Linked DNA regions of Homo sapiens: all the other regions are linked to region 2. Evidence: promoter capture Hi-C in 16 types of primary human blood cells and fetal thymus (Javierre and others, 2016). All regions are on one chromosome and are shown on one strand. The core of a region is centred on a gene start or on the middle of the fragment in contact, and the rest is flanking DNA. Distances in the headings are between cores, read along the strand shown.

Region 1 (3,410 bases), core at 3-2,502, 290 kb after region 2:
TCTCCTGAGACAGCAAGACCAACCCCTCCTTTTCATCCTCCTCCTCCTCCTCAGCCTACTCAACATGAAAATGACAAGGATGAAACCTTTATGATGATCCACTCATCCATTTTCTTTTCTCTAGCTTATTGTAAGTATGCTGTATATAATACATATAACATACAGAATGTGTTAACTGTTCATGTTATCAGTGAGGCCTCCAGTCAACAGTAGGCTACTAGTGGTTAAGTTTTGGGGAAGTCACAAGTCATGCAGACATTTTGGACTGCGTGGGGGAAGCAGCACCCCTTACCCCCACGCATTGTTCAAGGGACAACTGTAATCTGTAAGCAGCTGAAGGAAATGCTTGTACTTTATTTTTCTTTCCACCATCTTAAGATACCTTCATGGGTTGTAAAATACTTTAAAAAGATTGTATTTTCAGCACAGTACAACTCCAAGGTCAGCCAAGTCTGTGTGAAATTATAAATCTTGTGACGATATTTTTGTGGTTAGGACTCGAGATAGACCAGTTATTTTTCCAAATAGAACCTATCCTGCTATTTACCTTAAAAGATAATCATTTGTAATGTGTCAAAGCAACATGATACCAATATCTATGTAATCTATTACATCCTAACAGACTTAAATTTTTTTTAAATTACGGAGCAGTCATGCGTGAGTTCTTTCTTCCTTTTTTCCTCCAGGCCCAAAAGCCTGATTGCCAAGCCAATCATCCATAGGTGAAAGTGTGAATGTTGCTGGACGTGGTGGCTCACACCTGTTATCCCAACTCTTTGGGAGGCCAAGGCGGGAGGACCACTTGAGCCAAGTTTGAGACCAGGCTGGGCAACATGATGAGATCCCCATCTCTCCCCCACAACCCCCTGCAGCCAAAAAAAAAATTGTGAATGTGTGTGAATTACTGGCATACAACTAAATTAAACAAGCAAAAAAGACATTTAAACTCCATGTTCTAGATCCTGGGCCCTGGGCCACAGAAACTTTGCACAGTTAAGCCTGGCTCAACAATCATGGCTTATACAAGTCAGTATTTTCTCCATCATTGAGTTAGAGCAAAAACACATGAGCAGAGGAAACATGGCAGACATAGATAGCAGTGGGTGTCCTGACAGTTCCAAGACAGGAGGAAACCCCCCCAAAGCTTAGGTCTTCCAGGATAACACTGAAACTAGAGTGTAGTGTTGCACGGCTGATACTCACCCATCTCTCTCTTCTCTCCACAGGTGAACATCTTAGGCTAGTGTGTCGACTTCTGACTTGGCTCATCTGAACCCAAGTCCTTGGACACATTCACAAACACCCCAGGGTCTTGGGCTTCCAGTTTGTGCTAGAAGGACAAAGGGCAGGTGAAGCTTGTTTGCCGTAACTAGAAGGAGCAGAAACTGCTCCCAGCAGAACAAGATCAAATCATGGGGAACAGTGGTCACCTGCCATTTCTAGAGGAAGCTTTTGCTTTTGGTCACTGAGGACCCTAAGTCTTACATGAGAAGAAAACAAATAGGGTGATGCTGCATGCTTCTGTCCCCAAAGAATCCCTGTGCAGGTGCCGAGGGTGCCCCAAAGACGAGGCTGTGCTTGCCGTGCCCACCACAGAAGCACATTTGACCTGATCAAAAGCAGGTGGAAAAGGTCCTGAAGCACAGATATTTTCTCAGTGATGTTGTTTTCTCCAAAATGAAAGAGGGAAGGTACCCTGGCTTAGGCCCCTGGTGTTCTGATTGAAGGTGAGAATGGAAGTATCTTCTTCAACATGTTCTCCCATCTGACTGCAACAAGTGTGCTCCAGCCACCAGTGTCCCAGTTGCTCTGAATGATGGTGAGAAGGGTACCCAAACACTTGAATGGTACTGTACCCTCTACTTGCCATCTGAATCCTCACTTGTGGAACCCAGGCACTCTGGCTGTATTCGCGAGTAAGCATAGGTGTGGGACTGTGTCCTGCCATTGCACCATCTTTAATCTGGACTTGTGGACCTCAGGCTCTCTGACTATTCATGGACAGAAGTTTCTGCAGGCACAGGTGGGGTGCTGTTTCCTCCCATTGTACACCTGAATTCAGGACTTGTGGACCCCAGGTGTTCTGGCTGTGTTCATGAACAGAAGTGTCCCCCCCAAACAAACCCATATATGGTGCCATCTCCTCCCATTACAGGTATGGTGCCATCTCCTCCCATTGCAGGCATTGCACTGCCTATACTCTGGACTTATGGCCCTCACATGCTCTGATTGTATTCATAAACAGTAGTTTCTTCAGTCACAGATATGGCACCAGCCCCTCCAACAGAAACAGATGTGCTCAAGCTGAGTGGTCCAAAGGCGTTTGACAGAAGTCATGAACAGAAGTATCTTGGGGCACATGTTTCTTCTCTGTTGTGCAGGCTTCTCCAGCAGTAACAGGTTTGCCCAGGCCATATGGGCCCCAAGCGCTCTGACCAGACACAAGAAGAGAAGACTTGCAGTCACAGGTAGTGTGTTGTCCCCTGCTACTGCAACATAGGTGCTTGGAAAGGTGCAACAGGGTGCTCTGCTTGTGGTGGAAACATAAAGGCCTCCAAGCATAGATGTGCTGCTTTCTCCTTCCCTTTGAGGGATGCAGATGTGCTCTGGCCAGCTGCATTCCAGGTGGTCTGTCTGCAAGACAGAAGTGTCCCAAGCACTGGTATGTGCGGGCTCCTCCAACCACAACAGACGTGCTTTGGCCAGATGGTTTCCAGGTGTTATGAACACAAGAAGGAACAGAGGTGCCTTCTGGAACATGTTTCTTCTCAGTGATGTTCTAAGAGGTGTGCTTTGGCAGGACAGGCCCCAGCTGCTCTGACTGTAGGCAGGGAGGAAAGTGTTTCCCAGGAGTTTTTGCTTTCAGTAGTACTGCCCTCTCCAACTGTACCAGAGGTGCTGTAGGCTTGCAGGAACCCCGGTGCTCATGTGTAAGCCTCCCCAACATAAACTAAGGTGCTGCATGCCCCTCTAGGCCCTGTTCTAAAGCTGAGTGCTTCAGATGTGGAGCTGGGTCTGGGGCAGACACACTGGTCCTAGAGCTGTCATTATCCAAAGAAGCCCCAGAGTCCATGAATGGAAATGGGTCGAGAGAGGGGTTAGCAAAAGGTGAACTGTGCCTGATGCTGAGCATCCAGTGATGGCTCCAGAGCTAGAAGTAGTGGCTGTGCAAATGGGAAAAGGACCCGAGGTGCCACCCAAGGCTGAGTGGGTGCTAGCAGAGATATCAAAGATGGATATGGAGGTAACACGTACGCAAAATCTGATGGCATTATGCTCCCATTGGGTGTCTGGGCTGCAGTAAAGGCTCAGTTTAGAGCTTGTATTGAGATTTTACGTTTCTCAAAGGGTAAATGCTATCAAATACATTGGGGGATCCTGCCAGGGGGAGGCTAGAAAGAGGACATGGT
Region 2 (3,314 bases), core at 674-3,173:
GGTTTCTCCATGTTGGCCAGGCTGGTCTCGAACTCCCTACCTCAGGTGATCTGCCCGCCTCAGCCTCCTAAAGTGCAATTTTTTTGTATTTTTAGTAGAGATGGGGTTTCTCCATGTTGGCCAGGCTGGTCTCGAACTCCTGACCTCAGGTGATCCACTCGCCTCGGCCTCCCAAAGTGCTGGAATTACAGGCGTGAGCCTCCATGCCCGGACTAATGAACACCATTGTTGAGAGTTACTATATATCCCAGGCCCCGCCACAGATGAATCAGACATGCCACCTCCTTAATTTGGCCACAGCTTTTTGGGAGCACACAGTAGGCCCACAGACAGAAAGGGAAGGGCTCAGAACCTGACAGCCTGGGTTCCAATCCTAGCACAGCCACTTTCTCCTTATGCGACATTAGGCAAGCAAGTCTGCCTTCCCGGGCCTCAGTTTCCCCATCTGTACCACTGGGATAATAGCAGTCCATCTGCTGTGCTGCCCTTTGGAGTCAATGGGCTCGTTGTGTGGGACGCTGACAGCATGACTAATTCTGAAAGCTGGTTCCCTTCCTGGAAGGGGGTGGAGTGGGAGGGGTGTGGCTGTGTGTTTTCCAATAGCCAACAATGGAACTCTTGTAGGCAGGGGCCCTCGGGCCTAGAAAACACATCCACCCCTGTGGGTTCTAGACAAAAGTTTCAGGTCTCAGAGTGGAGGTTTACCAGGGCATTTACACTCTTTGAAGATTGTTAAGAAGAAATACTGGTTTCGGGGGACATAGGGACACAGGGGTGGATTCCCATTTTGCCCTCTCTCCCTGCAAGAAGTAGCTGCCAGAGATGGGGGGTAGGGGCAGGATCTCTCCCACCTACAACTCCTGAGTAGGATTAGATAGGCTTAAGAAAACCTCTGGGCTGCACTGATTGGCTCAGTGGGGTTTAATCAAAGTGAAGCATTGGAATTTTTGTTGAGTACTTGGGGTAAGAAAAGATTCGGGTTTTGGACAATGGGGAATACACATTTAATGACTGGAAAATTGGCAGTTATTTTGCCATCACAAGAAAAGCCAGCCTGAGGACAAAGCTAATGCTATAGAGAAACACAGACCAAGAGAAATGCTGAAAAACTGAGTTAGCACCCTGATCAAACCATGCCTGATCTCCCTCTGGAATTTTCAGTTATGTAATTAGTCTAAAAATCATAAAACACAGTCTGTGACTGGTTTGAGTTACCTTTTATGAGGCTTTCTGTAACCAAAACAGCCAAAGTGGTATATAGGGAACTTCTGTGGACCCAGAATCTCTACACTTTCACTAGGCTATCACATGATTTTTACTTAGTTTGAGCCAATGTATTTCTTTTAGCTTCAATCGGTTCAAGAGTCTCTAGATGCCAATGAGTGCTTACCTCATCAGGTCGGGGCTCTCTCTGCAGACAAACCTGGGTCCCATGAACCTACATCTTTGAAATGAACACAATGGGACTGCTGGACTTGTTTCTCCTTCCCAATTTCCACCTTGAAAAGGCGCAATGAGCTGGAGGAGCCACAGGACTTGGTAAAAGCAGAAGCGCAAGTGCCTGGAAACTCAACACTCTTCCGGTCAAAGGAGGCGACGTGTGAGTGCATGGTTGCTTGATAAATGCCAGGGGAGAGTGGGTGGCACCCAAAGATGCCCCTGAGGGTCTCACATCTCTGCCCCGGCCCACAGGAGGACGGGGAGCAGCACACGGCGTGGGTGGAGGCCTGGCAGTGGCAGAATTGCTCACAGCGCTCCCCAGTCCAGAAGGCCTCCCCAGCCGGGTGGTGGTACCTGCCCCCCATGGAGCAGCTGCACTGGATTGGGGGCACGCAGTCCATGCCACTGAGCACAAAGCCTGGGTCACACTGGCAGCCATCCTGGCATGGTGTCAGGCAGCTGTCGGGCAGGGCAGGCTCGGCACAAGAGCTAGGACAGGAGGAGCCGCAGAGCTCGTAATTGCTGCGGGGAGGACAGGCCAGCTCTGGAAGAAAACAGGTAGGAGTTAAATAATTGAGCAAGCATTACTATTCTGGAGCATTTCCAACCAGAATAGGACCAAGGGAGCGGAGAGAGGGTTGTGGGGGCCAAGGGTAAGTCATAAAGGCAAAGGAGGGGAGGTGGAGGCATCATCAGGATGTAGCATAATGGTGGCGGCGTGGTCACGGCGGTGATAACGGTGGCGGCGTGGTCACGGCGGTGATAACGGTGGCGGCGTGGTCACGGCGGTGATAACGGTGGCGGCGTGGTCACGGCGGTGATTAACGGTGGCGGCGTGGTCACGGTGGTGATAATGCTGGTGGCGTGATCATGGTGGTGATAATGGTGGTGGTGGTGGTCGTGGTGATAGTAATGATGATGATGGTGGTAGGGCTGGTGATGTTGTTGGTGATGTGATGGTGTTGATGGTGATGGTAATGATAGCGGTGATGGTGACAGTGATGATAGTGGTGAGGGTGGTGGTGGTGGTGATGACAATAGTTGTGGTTGTGGTAACAATGATGGTGGTGGTAGTGATAATGGTGATGGTGATTATAGTAGTGATGGTGATGCTGATGCTGGTGGTGATGGTGATGCTGGTGGTGATGGTTATGATGGTGATGATGATGTTGATGGTGGTGGTGGTGGTGATGATGATGGTGATGGTGGTGATGGTGATGATGGTGGTGATGGTAGTGGTGATGATGGCTGTGGCTGTGGTAACAATGATGATGGTGATGGTGGTGATGGTTGTGGTTGTGGTAACAATGATGGTGGTGGTAGTGATGATGGTAATGCTTGTGGTGATGGTGGTGGTGGTGATGATGGTAATGCTGGTGGTGGTGGTGGTGGTGAGGCTGGTGGTGGTGGTGATGGTGACGCTGGTGGTGGTGGTGATGGTGACGGTAATGATGATAGTGACTGTGATGATGACAAAGGTGACGAAGATAGTGATGAAGAAACAACCTTGGTCATGCTGGGTCATGTTCAGGTTAGTTCGTTACTTCAGCATAACCCAGACCATCCTGACTGATGCAATAGCACTCAGTGTCATCTGTTATTGTTATTGCAGAGTTTTAAGCAGGTAGGTTCTTCGCGGGAACAGTTAGCCAGAAAGGCATGCAGTGGGTCACTTTGGGTGGTGTTGACCTAGGAGGACATCCTGGAAGTGGTATTGGGCCAGCTGGGGAGGTCAGGCTGAGAAAGACCCTCCCTGGGAATACCCACTTACTGCAGGCCAAGAGGTGTCTCCAGGGCTGCATGGGAACGCTGCGCTGCTGGCTTTCCTGGGCGTAGCTCCCCAGTATGGCACACAGAGTCTCTCTTGAGCCCCC
Region 3 (3,608 bases), core at 231-2,730, 290 kb before region 2:
ATTTTATGTGTTGGCTTGGCCACGCCACAGTGCCCAGATATTTGGTGAAACGTTATTCTGGGTGTTGCTGTGAGGGTGTTTTTGGATGAGATTGACATTTACATTGGTGGACTCTGAGCAAAGCAGATTGCCCTCCAAAATGTGGGGGACTCCTCCAGTCACTGAAGGCCTGAACAGCACAAAAGGCTGACCTCCACATGCAAAAGAGAATTCTCCTGCATGCTGGATTCAGACTTTGTCTGCAGCAGTGGGTCTTCCTGGCTCACCAGCAGGCTCTCTTTAGACTCAACCACAACTTCTTCCTGAGCCTCGAGTCAGCCAGCTTCCTCCGTCAGATTTTGGGCTCATCAAGCATTCACAATCACATGAGCCAATTCCTTAAATAAATCTCTTTATACACACATGCAGACATGCAGACACACACACACACACACACAAACACACACACAGAAACACACAGACACACACACGGAGACACACAGTAACACACAGACACACACATGGACACACACACAGACATGCACACAGAAACACAGAGACACACACAGACACAGAGAGATATACACACACACAGAGAGACACACAGACCCACAAAAACACACAGAGACACACAGAAACACATACAAACATGCACACAGAAACACATACACAGAGACACACATTAACACACAGAGCCACAAACATACATGCACACAGACGCACACAGAGACATACAGACACACACATGGAGACACATATACAGACACACACAAAAACACACACAGAGAGAAACACACACACAGACATGCACACAGAGACACACATAGAGACACAGACAGAGACACACATACAAAAACATACAGAGACACACAGAGGTACACACACACAGAGACACACACAGACATGCACAGAGACACACACACAGATACATACACAGACACACACACAGACACACACACACCGCAGAGACACACATACACACACAGACACATGCACAGAGACACAGACACACAGACACACCCACAGACACACATACACACACTCTATTGGTTCTGTTTCTCTGGAAATCCCAGACTAATACTTAAGTTTCTAAATTCTAAATATCATCTCAAAAAATTAAAATACAATATTTTCTCTTGTCAGCAGAGTTATGGGGTCTCTTACAGACTGTTGGGGAAGAAAGGGTTGACTCAGCCGGGGAAGGTAATTCATCGATATTTATCAAAGCTTTACATGTACATATCATTTAATTCAACAGTACGACTTGTAGGAAATGCACAGTGCACGTGCCTTTATGTAAAAGGATGTTCTCATAGCATTATTTATAATAGTAGAAAATTAGAGATATTTTTAAAAAATCATTCATTCATTTATTCACCATCAAATGCCCAGTCTGTGCTAGGCACGGTTTTAGGCACCCACTGGGTATATAGTGACAAAGAAAACTGACGTGGTGACTGCTGTCATGGGCTTCTCAGTCTAGTAGGAGTCACGTTAAACAAATGAACACACACATACAAACATCAAACCATGAGAGCGCAGTGTGAGATAATATCAGAAGGGGGCTACTTGATATTGGATGATCAGGGAAAGCCTCTCTAAGGCGTGACATTGGACAGAAACTTGGAAGAAGTGGGGAACTAGCCAGGTAAAGAGTGGAAGGCATGGTGCATGCAGACATTCAGAGCTTGGCCTGCTCAAGGGACAGAGAGAAGTCCAGGCCAGAAGAGCGATGTCAGTGACACTTCTCTGGGGATGGCCCCAGAGAAGCTTGGAGAGAGAGGCAGGGCCTCAAAGGCTGTGAGGAGGAGGCCAGAATGGAAAGCCATTGAAAAGTTTTATTCAGGGCAATGACAGGATCCAATTTATATTCCTCATGAAACTGGCCTGATTGTCCCATAGATGCTTCTTTTGGATCAACGTAGAAATTCACCCTTCTTTTTTTTTTTTTTTTTTTTTTTTTAGATGGAGTCTTTCTCTGTTGCCCAGGCTGGAGTGCAGTGGTGCGATCTTGGCTCACTACAACCTCTGCTTCCCAGGTTCAAGCAATTCTCCTGCCTCAGTCTCCTGAGTAGCTGGGACTACAGGCACATGCCACCAAACCCGGCTAATTTTTTGTATTTTTAGTAGAGACAGGGTTTCACTGTGTTAGCCAGGATGGCCTTGATCTCCTGACCTCGTGATCCACCCACCTCGGGCTCCCAAAGTGCTGGGATTACAGGCATGAGCCACTGTGCCTGGCCCCCTCCTGGTCTTAAAGTTTGAAGCCTGCATTTGTCTTATCTGAGTTCTTGCCACAGGAAATCAACGAATTGAAACTCACCAGATCACTGCATCCAGACAATGAGATGCCAGACCCCTCATCCCTCCTGATTTCCTTATCCCTCCCTAATTCCTTTGACCAACTCCTCTTCCTTACCTCTCCCTAACTCTGGTTTTCCCACATGTAGTTACATTTCTTCCCTGCTGTATAACCCCCTGATTTTAGTTGACTAGGGAGATGGATTTGAGACTGATCCCCATTTTCCTTGGCTAAAGCACTCAATTAAAGCCTTCTTCCCAGGCAGTACTCATTGTCTTGGTGATTGGCTTTCTGTGCAGTGAGCAACGGGACCTAGACTGGAGCCCTGGCATTTCAGTAACAGATTTTGGTTCCCTACCTGGGAACACATTGCTTGTGGCTCAGCTGCTGCAGACTGGGACTTTCAGAAGCCCCCTGTACAGCTGTCTGACCTTTTTTTGGCTGGAGGTGGGTTTCCATCTTTTTCTCTTTGGCTCTGCTGCTGCCAGCCCCAAATGTATTGCTGATTGCCTAGGAAGAACAGACTTTGAAATTTGATATCTGTGTCTGGATGGATGAGTGTCTTTTCTGGGTTCCAGACAGCAGGAAGGGCTCCTCTCAATTTGGGAATTTTCTAAGGAATTTCCATTTGCAGGTTGAATAAGCCCAAATGATGGAGGGAGGAAAGCACCATGACTGTTTCAGTTTGGACACTCTTGGGGCTTGTTAGTGAGAACTAAGCTCTGATTTTTAAAATCTTGCCCAAATTCCTATCTAAGGGGTCTAGAGAAGTCATGCTCTACAAACCATAAATTCTCATCAGATTTTTGTTGTTGTTGTTGAGACAGTCTTACTCTGTTGCCCAGGCTGGAGTGCAATGGTGCGATCTCAGCTCACTGCAACCTCTGCCTCCTGGGTTCAAGCAATTCTCCTGCCTCAGCCTCACGAGTAGCTGGAATTACAGGTGCCTGCCACTACGCCCTGCCAATTTTTGTATTTTTCGTAGAGATGGGGTTTCACCATAATGGCCAGGCTGTTCTCGAACTCCTGACCTCAGGTGATCTGCCTGCCTCAGCCTCCAAAAGTGCAGGGATTACAAGCGTGAGCCACCATGCCCAGCCCAGATGGGTTTTATTTAACTTACATATTGTGACTTACTTTCCAATCTTACTCTGGTATAACATTACACGACAAAGAAGAAAGTCATAATATTTTACCCCAAAACATGTTTCTTTGCCATATTTTGAAATGGCCCTGCAAAGTTGTCCTTTGTGGGGGGGAAATGTGCATCTGTAAAGAATCTCTATTAACATAGCTAGATCTTTTTCTTTCAGGCCCTCCCAATCCT

The links. Contacts are between HindIII fragments. The CHiCAGO score rates a contact against its expected background, and 5 or more counts as called.
Region 1: a fragment that was not itself captured here is called in contact with the fragment with the promoter of HPN-AS1 in region 2 in 1 of 17 cell types (non-activated CD4 T cells); the score reaches 5.2 in non-activated CD4 T cells.
Region 3: a fragment that was not itself captured here is called in contact with the fragment with the promoter of HPN-AS1 in region 2 in 4 of 17 cell types (total B cells, naive CD4 T cells, naive CD8 T cells and 1 more); the score reaches 6.6 in total B cells.

Annotation. Positions count from the first base shown.
Region 1 is chr19:34,815,307-34,818,716 of GRCh38, reverse strand. It overlaps LINC01801 (long intergenic non-protein coding RNA 1801), which reads left to right. Exons shown (of 6, transcript NR_033982.1): 5 at 1-130; 6 at 1,227-2,563. Among named protein-coding and RNA genes, the nearest start is that of LINC01801, 16 kb to the left of the region's middle. The HindIII fragment of the contact is 211 bases long and covers 1,147-1,357 here.
Region 2 is chr19:35,104,913-35,108,226 of GRCh38, reverse strand. HPN-AS1 (HPN antisense RNA 1) reads left to right here and starts at 1,923. Exons shown (of 4, transcript NR_024562.1): 1 at 1,923-1,998. LOC124904701 (hepatitis A virus cellular receptor 1-like) reads right to left here. Exons shown (of 3, transcript XR_007067238.1): 2 at 1,391-3,314. The HindIII fragment of the contact is 15,680 bases long and covers 1-3,314 here.
Region 3 is chr19:35,390,226-35,393,833 of GRCh38, reverse strand. No RefSeq gene overlaps it. Among named protein-coding and RNA genes, the nearest start is that of LINC01531, 14 kb to the left of the region's middle. The HindIII fragment of the contact is 543 bases long and covers 1,209-1,751 here.